Regions from separate parts of the Homo sapiens genome. Here region 2 is linked to region 1. The links are contacts of gene promoters, found by promoter capture Hi-C in human tissues and cell types (Jung and others, 2019). All regions are on one chromosome and are shown on one strand. The core of a region is centred on a gene start or on the middle of the fragment in contact, and the rest is flanking DNA. Distances in the headings are between cores, read along the strand shown.

Region 1 (4,509 bases), core at 849-3,348:
ATCAATAAGCTGTAAGAGCTCTGTAATTACCTCTGTGTGAATGTTACATTATCAAACACTGGGACAAGTACAATCTTGTATGAAATCACTGTATGAGATCAAATAATCATATCCAAAAGAAATCACATACTGGATTTAAACTTGTCCAAACTGTGATCATTTCAACCTATGTGGTACCATCCTCTTGCGTTCACAAATTCCATCAATGTAGTCATTACACACTTGTAAAGGAAGACTTCAAGTAATCCCGGCTCATAAAAAAGTTAAACATTAACGAAATCTCAAAAGCATCAATGTTATCTCAAAACAGTGACATTGAACGCTGAAGAAATAAGTCTTATGTGACCATAAAAAATAGTTACAAAAATCAATGAGTTTATGGGGATGGTTTTCTGTTTACAAAGTGTAACTGCTTATGGCAAAGACCCCACAGGTCTTTCTGGTCATCCTCTACAGAAAAACCAATTCTCCTGTTTCCCTTTTTTCTTTAAAGACTCGCCTCTGTCCCTTTTTTTTTAAATATACACCTCTCCCAAAACGTTTTCATCGCAAAAAAAAAGAGTTATGCCATTATTAGGAACAGCGTGTCCCAAGACAAGATCTCTATGATCCTTTGTATATTCAAGATTGCAAGAATTGAGCTTTAATAACTCATAGACCATAAACACACCCTGTTAAGGTTTTCCTTCAAACAGCAACATTCCCACTCTTGCGATCCCTAATAGGCGTACATAAGCCACACAACACAATCTTTCAAAACGACACAGATGGTAGGTGCTCTCCAACCTCTCTCGAGAGATCCTCACTGCACATTCTCCTCTAAAGGGCCCACAAACACTACTGTCATTCAGAGGGATGGTGACTGTTGAGCGTGGGTGGGAAAGAAAGTGCACACGAGATACCTAACTGGATGGGGAAGGTTGTTAGAGGCAGCCCTCCGGTATCACGTAACTAGCCAAACCCGCTACAAACTTTTGAGAGATTAAGTTAACATTCCTCGGCAATTCCACCCTTGACAGCTGAATCCAGAGATGCCAGCAAGTCGTGCACGTCTACTACTCCCGCCACCTCAACTCGGGAAGAGTCTGCAGCCACATCCCGCGGTCGGCATGCACCAGGGGCTGGGGAAGAAGGGAGGGCTGGGCGAGCTCACCTTTTCCAGCTCGTCGTGGAGCTCCGCCAGGCTAGGCCGGAGCAGCTTCTCGCCCAGCTGCGCGGCTGTGTGCCGGTAGTGATCGATCCTGGGCACAGCGTCCATGGTGTTGTGGCCGAAGGTGCGCAGGTAGTAGGTGTTGGTGTGGGTATCATAATAGTAGTGCTGGTGGTGCCCACTGCCGCCGCCGCCGCCGGAGTGCAGGCTGCTGCCCTCGCTCAGCACCGTGTCCCCGCCGTTCTGGAAGCTCACGTTGGGCCCGTCGACTCCGACCCCGGCAGCATCTGACAGGCTGTCTTCAGCCGACGAGGAGGCAGCTGGGTCCACGAAGTTCACGCGGAAGCGGCCCTTGGCTTCCTCGCTGCCTTTAGCCGGCTCGCTCTCGCCGCTGGCTTCCCCGTCCGCGGGGGTCTGCTTGGCCCCCGCCCCAGCACCAGCCGCCGCCGCTGCCGCCGCCGCCGCCGCCGCCGCAGCAGCGGCCCGCCCGGCGTTCTCGGAAACCAGGTCCACCTGGAAACGGCTCTGGCTCGGGGTGGGCCCCAAGGGTCTGCCCAGCCCGTCCCCGGCCGCCGCGGGGCCCTCATCGCGGACCCCGCCGCCGTCCCGGCTCGCGGGCGCAGCATCCTCCGGCACCGAGGGCACAGCCGTGCCGGGCAGTTCCACCCTGGCTGCGGCCAGCGCAGCGGCTGACGGCGTCTCCCCGACCCCGGCCAGTCCCGGGGCGCCGGAGGAGGGCGCCGTGGGCCGCGGCTCCATAGCTGCCCGACCCCCGGCGGAACTGCAGAGCCCGGCGGACGTCTCCGGCAGCACGCCCTCCACACCCCTGGCCGGCGGTGGCCACAGCCGCAAGACCAGGTGAGAGAGTCTTTCTCCCCGCCGCCTGCGGGCCGCCGCTAGCCTGGACGGCCACAGAGGCCACCGGCAGCCGAGCGAGCGCGCGAGTGTGGCGGGCGCGGGGCGGGCCCCGCTGTTTAAAGCCTCGGCGGGGCTGCGGCGGCGGCGGCTCCGGCAGCAGCACGCGGGAGGCGGGGCCGGAGGCTCCTCCGCCCCTCAGCCCGCCCACCCGCGGTCCCGCAGCGGCGCGCGGCTGACGCTCCCTCAGCGATCCGGCCCTCCGCGGCTCCTGCGCGACCCCACGCAAAAGCGCCCCGTGCGAAGAGCGCGGCCAGCCAGTCCGCAAAGGGCCTCGGGCAGTGCGGGCAGCACGAACGGCGCGATCGGGGAGCAGGCGCGGCTACGCTCCGCCTCAGTGATGTCGCCGGGAGGATCTCCGCGCGGCTACCTCCTCTTCCGCCGCCTTCCTCCCACGCCTTCACCTCCCTCCCCCGCCGCGCTCTGCGGCGAAAAGGAGCGGGCTCCCAGGCCACCTCCCCTCTCTCCACCCAGGGGCCGCGCGTCAGTGGACCTGCAGCCCAGGCAACGGGGCTGCGGACGGCGCGCGTGCCCTGCCTCGCCTCACGCCGGTAGCTGATGCTCCCGCGGCAGCTGCCACCCCAGCGCCCCAGCCACGGCTTCAGAGGCTCTCGCACGCTGGCTTTTTTTTTTTCCCCCCGCTTTGGTGAACTCGCAGTACTTGGGCTGAGCCCGAAATCTCGCGAGATGCTGCAGGCGTCAGTGCGGCTTCCCACTAGGCGCGTGGTACCCGAGGCCGGGCCGGAGCCGCAGGCCAGCCGCGATTCCTTCGGGCGATGCTGGGGGCTTTCCGGTCGGGGCCGCAGCCGCTTCCGGAGCCGCGGGCGAGGTGCGTTCCCCAGCCTGGTTTGCTCTGGGCTCTGACCCGCCGCCGCGAATCTCCGCTCGTAACTCCGGGCCTGAACCTGGAGGAGGGAGGATTTCCTCTGTGCAGCTTTCGAGCGGTAGACTCACCCTGCCAGGCAGACCTAGATTGGCATAACCAGAGATCAGTTCCAGTTGTGATGCAGTGGGTGTCTACACACTTCTGATGACACCTTTATTTTAAAAGCTGATGTTCCAAGGTGAGAAGGGAGCTTCTTTGAGACGTCATGTTGTTTCAAGACGAGTTTTAATTTAAGGCATTTCCAAAAGTGATATGCAGCTCATCTCTCAGAATACAATGCCGGCAATAACTACCCGTGGAGTCCTTACCAGGAGGTTTCTGCGTGATTTGGGTTGTGCAGAATTCCTCTGCTTATATAGAAACAGAAAGGTACTCCTCTGCAGGTCTAGTTTCTCTTCGGTAAAATGTAAGGGAATATAACTGTGTTCCCACTTTCTTAGCAGCAGAAATTTTTAAACCTATAGATTATGCCCAAAGTCCTAAGTAAAATCAATGAATGGCGTCCTCCAATTACTTGGTTTTTATTTATGTACTTTTTTTTTTTTTTTTTGAGACGGAGTCTCGCTCTGTCGCCCAAGCTGTAGTGCAGGGGTGCGATCTTGGCTCACTGCAAACTCCGCCTCCTGGGTTCACGCCATTCTCCTCCTGCCTCAGCCTCCTGAGTAGTTGGGACTACAGGCGCCCGCCATCACGCCCTGCTAATTTTTTGTATTTTTAGTAGAGTCGGGGTTTCACCGTGTTAGCCAGGATGGTCTCGATCTCCTGACCTCGTGATCCGCCCACCTCCGCCTCTCCAAGTGCTGGGATTACAGGCATGAGCCACCGCGCCCGGCCCTTGTATTTTTAAACTTTGACTTTATGGAGACGAACACCATCGTTTGCTGAACACTTGAAACATGATGAAAGAGCCACAGAGTTGGCAGAACTGTTTGAAAATGCTGTAAGTAAAAGCTGCAACCAGGCAATTTTCAAAAAATTGTCATAAACATGATCTTACTTGAACTTGACAACTTTTCAGGCTATTTTATTATCTCTATTTTTAAAGACGGTGAGAGGGGAAAACAGCTGTTGCATCAGGATTTTTAAAGCTCCTTTTGAGCTTTAGTAATAACCAGAGGAGGCCAGAAAAATGAGGTGGTCCTTTAAGCAGTGCAGTTTTCTACTAGGGAATTGCTGCATTAGTAGTTGATCCGTGCAGTACCTTTCAGCTCCACAACGAATTCTGCCACTATTGGAATTCAACATTCATTTAGTTGAATAAATACTGAACAGGTACTATGAGCTACTCTGTATTTACGGGATATAGCAGTGAGCAAAACGGACAATCCCATCTCTCATGGAGTTCTTTCTAGTGAGAAAGAGAAACAATAGACAAGATAAATAGGTAAAATACATAGCATCCAAGCAGTGAGTACTAAGGAAAGGGAAATGGGATATTTGTGTGAAATGAGGATCATAAAATTTTCCATAGGATGGCCTCACTGAGAAGGTGATATTTGAGTAAGGAAGTGAGTGATATGAGTTCTTGGGAAAAAAAGTGTCTGAAGCAGAGGGAAAC
Region 2 (4,509 bases), core at 838-3,337, 270 kb after region 1:
TTTACAAATAATGAAAGCTAGGATCCCTTTCAACAGTTAATAATCTCACAGGAAGAGCCCAGCACTGCTAGGTTTTCTTTTTCTACTATGAATCCATTATGTGGGGTATTAAGGAGTTGTTGCCTTTCCTCAAATGAAACAAAGCAAGAAGATGTCATGACCTGAAAGTCCCAGCATTGCCAACTCAAGTTGGTTTCTGAGGAAACTTCCAATGGCTGTAGCCAGCTATAAAATATGTGACATGCCTTTTGGGATTTTCCTTACCAGTCCTTTCCCCTAGCTAACATCCAGGCTCTTTCAACTCTCCTTGCCTTTGTACAGGCTACTTCCTCTGCCTAGATCACTCCCACCCCCATCTTCCCTTGGACAGTTCCTCTCCCTAATTTAATACTCAGCTCAGGTATCACTGGCATACCTGATGGCTTCTTGGAGCAGTCTCCAGCTCCACCCTGGGTTAGGGATGGTTCCTCTGAATTCTCATAGTAATTTTTGACAGCCACGATCATTCCACTTGTCATAATGTGCTATAAGACCTATGTATGGGGTCTCTATGTAATCTCTTCTTGATAGCAGTAATTCCAAACTTTGGTTGCACATTAGAATGACTTGAGGAAATGTTAAAAGTCCCCATGTCTTGTTTGTACTCCAAATCAATAGAATTTTGGATGTCTAGGAGTAGAACCCAGGATTCGTTTTTTAAAAAAAATGTTTCCCAGTTGACTTCAATGGTGGCCAAGGTTGAAAACCTCTGCATTAGATGACAAAGTCCTAGAGACTCAGTCTTTAGTATGTCAACCCAATGCATAAGACTGATGTTAAAATTTTGCTAAATTAATGGATTTATATATTCAAATTCAAGTATTTTAGACTCTTATCAAGTGACATTAAGAGGTAGCAATTTATTTATTCCAGAGTGCAAGCAGGTTATAAGCAAAAAAATATGTAAATATCATGTTGATTAAAAATCACTACGCCCATTGATTTTAGAGCAGTGATTTGGGAAAAAGCTATGCTGGGTTTTTTCATATACTTTATTCTGAAGACTCTTCTGATAGTAATTTGTACTATTTTTACGGATATTTTCTAAAGCAAGGTCATGAACTTTGAAGAATTGTGGATTTGTATGACTACTTCTACAATGTCATAGCTTAGGAGATTTACACATGTAAGGACTAGATGCAATGTTTCTAAAAGCGTGGTTCAGAGATCAGCTGCATCCAAATAAAAATACATGTTTCCAGCCCTCATCCTAGATATGCATTTAGATTCTTTGGGAAATAATTCAAGAATCTGTTTTCATTTTTATTTTTTATTGAGATATAGCAGTCATCCTTTTAAAGTGTACAATTCAGCAATATTAGTATATTCACAAAGTTGTGCAACTATCACTACGGAGTCCAGAACATTTCATAAATACAAAAATAAATTCATATCCATTAGCAGTCACTCCCTCACTCCTTATCCATCTCACCCCCTCAGGCCAATGGCAACCAGTACCTATTCTGGACATTTTCAATCAATGGAATCTTACAATATGTGGAGTTTTGTTTTTGGCTTCTTTCACTTAACACAGTATTTTCAATGTTTGTCCATGTTGTAGTATGAACCAGAATTCCTTTTTATGGATAAATAATATTCCATTAGTTGAATATTTTACATTTTGTTTATCCATTCATCAATTGCTGGACATTTGAGTTGTTACCAGTTTTTTGCTATTGTAAATAATGTTGCCATGAACATTTTTGTGCAAGCTTTTGTGTGGACATATTTCCATTCTCTGCAGTATATACCTAGGAACAGAACTGCTGGGTCATATTTTAACTCTTCTACCTGTATTTTAAATAGGGCTTTCAGGTGAACCTAAGACTCACTAAATTTGAGAATCACTTTATTAGGGTGTCACTATTTCCTCCAAGGCACTGTACCTGTAAGCCACCAACTGCCAACAGGTGTGACATTGCACCCGGTAATAGGTGGAAAAGAAAGACTATCACAGCATCCAATCAATTATGATTCATAAGAAAAATGTTAACAATATGAATAACTAATAATATCACATTATCACCTTTGTTTGACAAATTTAAATCCAGATATATTGAAGGACAAGGTTTAAAGAAACAAATAGCATGGAATAAGTCAATCATTAAGAACTCTAATATTTTTCCAGCCTACAGTTGAACTTGCCTTGATTTTCTTTTATCTGAGACCCACAAACTTACTGGGTGTGATGGAACTATAGCATTCTTTTTGCCTGCCAACCATCTTTGAACACTTTTCCTAAGCTTGGTTATTTCCCCACCTTGAGACCTCACTTTCTCAAAGCAGAAGCCTCCCTCGCATCCTCAGTGCAAGGCTTGAAACATTTATGCCAGAATTCAGATAAGAATAGCTGCTATGTGCCCTCTGTTCACAGCAGAAACACCCTGTTTAGAAGCAAAAGTTCTAGTGGAGGCTTCCAGTGCACAGAGCCAGAGGTACCAGCTAGAACTATACAGCAGTGGGAAGCTACCTGGGGAAGTTCTGTGGTGTGATTTGACCATTGTTTCAGCTTCCATTTCCAAATCTGGTTCTCTGGCTCTCCTGGAGAGTGAGAGTTAGCCATGGCCTTCACTTAATACCTATTCTGCTTAAACTGGTATTTCTGTAAAACAAGAACATGACTGATATCACAGGACTCTACCTTAGAAGCCCCACTAAAGCTAAACTAAGTACAAGCTTATCCCAAATTTGCTTATTAGCTTTAGGGTCCTAGCAAATCTCTGTCTGCCTCCTTTGCAGAAAATCCCCCCTTTTCATGGTTCAATGAGCAAATTCCCTCTAAAAAGCTTTACTGATGCAATTTGAACCCTTTGTAATGTTTAATGCTAATTATAAAATATTTATCCACACAACAGTATGTTGATTTCTAAGTCACTCTCTCCAGAACACTAACTCCAAATCATGATTTCTTTGCCAAGTCCATCATAAGCCCCTCCCCTCCTCATTACTTTTCTCTAACACATATTAATGTATCTCAACTTCTTTAAAGTACATTGTCTAATAGCTTTATCTAACCAATGATGGATGAAACCTTTTAGAGACAAAATATGTGATTTTTGTACTTTTTATATACATACTGTATATTTAATAACACCTGATCCCAAATATAATCAGTCATGGATTTTGACAAATTCTCTTTCTTGTACATCTCTCTCTTTTATTTTTATTTTTTTTTTCAGACAGAGTCTCGCTCTGTTGCCCAGGCTGGAGTGCAATGGTGCAACCTACTCTCACTGCAAGCTCCGCCTCCCAGGTTCATGCCATTCTCCTGCCTCAGCCTCCTGAGGAGCTGGGACTACAGGTGCCCGCCACCATGCCTGGCTAATTTTTTTGTATTTTTAGTAGAGACGGGATTTCACTTGTTAGCCAGGATGGTTTTGATCTCCTGACCTCGTGACCCACCCGTCTCAGCCTCCCAAAGTGCTGGGATTACAGGTGTGAGCCGCCATAGCCAGCCCATACATCTCTCTTTAAAGAAACTCCTTAGACTCCTGTGGGCAATCTGGAAGGCTTAGAGAAGATTGTTTCTGTGAAGCTGAAGGTAGATTCCATGCAGGAACTCTGTGAATTTATAGAAATCATGTAAAACCTGATTTTCCCCACCCCCTATCATCCCCAAATGTGCCAATGGACAGACCCAGCCTCAAGATTCCAGGTTTTCAGTCTCTTTGATCACTTGCTCCTAAATGAAATCCAGCAAGAGAGAGGAAGAATTTTACTTGCTGTTCTGACGTTTCACCATCTTCCTCAGATTTAGTTTGCTCTGCTATGCGGGAGTCAACAGAAAATGGCACACAAATATCCATCGACTCTTTCTAAAATATGTTAAAGTTGATGTGTACAATAGCTCCCAGGTCACACAGTCTATTAATACACCACACAGATCTGAAAATATGCCCATGAACCTACAGTTTCAGATAGAGAAACACCAGCCTAGAGTCTTACTACTGAGCATTTTTAAGGCTACACATGGTCATTGCTGAAAGAGAGAGATCCTTCTGTCATAATATTTATTCATGAGAGGTGCAAAGAATTATATTTTGAGGCCAGAAATTTTCCCAACACATACTGTCTTGAAAATAAAAATAAAAAAAACCCATCAGAGAAAACTAATTAAAAAATATTTTTAAAAATTCGCCATACTGAAGATGTTGAAAACAACTGTTTACCCTCAACAATGTTTAAGACAACACAGGTACGTAGGACATGAATGGGAGAACAGTGGGAGCTGTGCAGCTAGAATTTCATTGGCACAAATTTCCAAACATGTCAGACTTGAAACTAACCAGCAAGGGATTGCTTTGCTGGAAAGTCATTCTAAAGTCTAAATTCTTATTCTAAGATCCAGGGCTGAAAGGCAAAGTAAATTCCTCGGGCAACACAGTTTTGGAGAAGTCATAGAAAGATCTCCCAAAATGTTACTGAGTCTTTTCCCAACTAAGCTTTTAGCTATTCCAATTAACTAAAAAC

What was found. Contacts are between HindIII fragments. The study calls those that stand out against the background at their distance.
Region 2: a fragment that was not itself captured here is called in contact with the fragment with the promoter of SLC12A2 in region 1 in 2 of the 25 tissues and cell types used here (IMR-90 fibroblasts and hippocampus).

What each region holds. Positions count from the first base shown.
Region 1 is chr5:128,081,355-128,085,863 of GRCh38, reverse strand. SLC12A2 (solute carrier family 12 member 2) reads right to left here and starts at 2,098. Exons shown (of 27, transcript NM_001046.3): 1 at 1,154-2,098. The coding sequence starts at 1,909. SLC12A2-DT (SLC12A2 divergent transcript) reads left to right here and starts at 2,689. Exons shown (of 4, transcript NR_152813.1): 1 at 2,689-2,894. RefSeq lists an enhancer at 945-1,114 and a silencer at 1,605-2,434. The HindIII fragment of the contact is 27,841 bases long and covers 1-4,509 here.
Region 2 is chr5:127,814,574-127,819,082 of GRCh38, reverse strand. The region is part of intron 5 of CCDC192 (coiled-coil domain containing 192); the gene reads right to left. Among named protein-coding and RNA genes, the nearest start is that of CCDC192, 110 kb to the right of the region's middle. The HindIII fragment of the contact is 4,888 bases long and covers 1-4,509 here.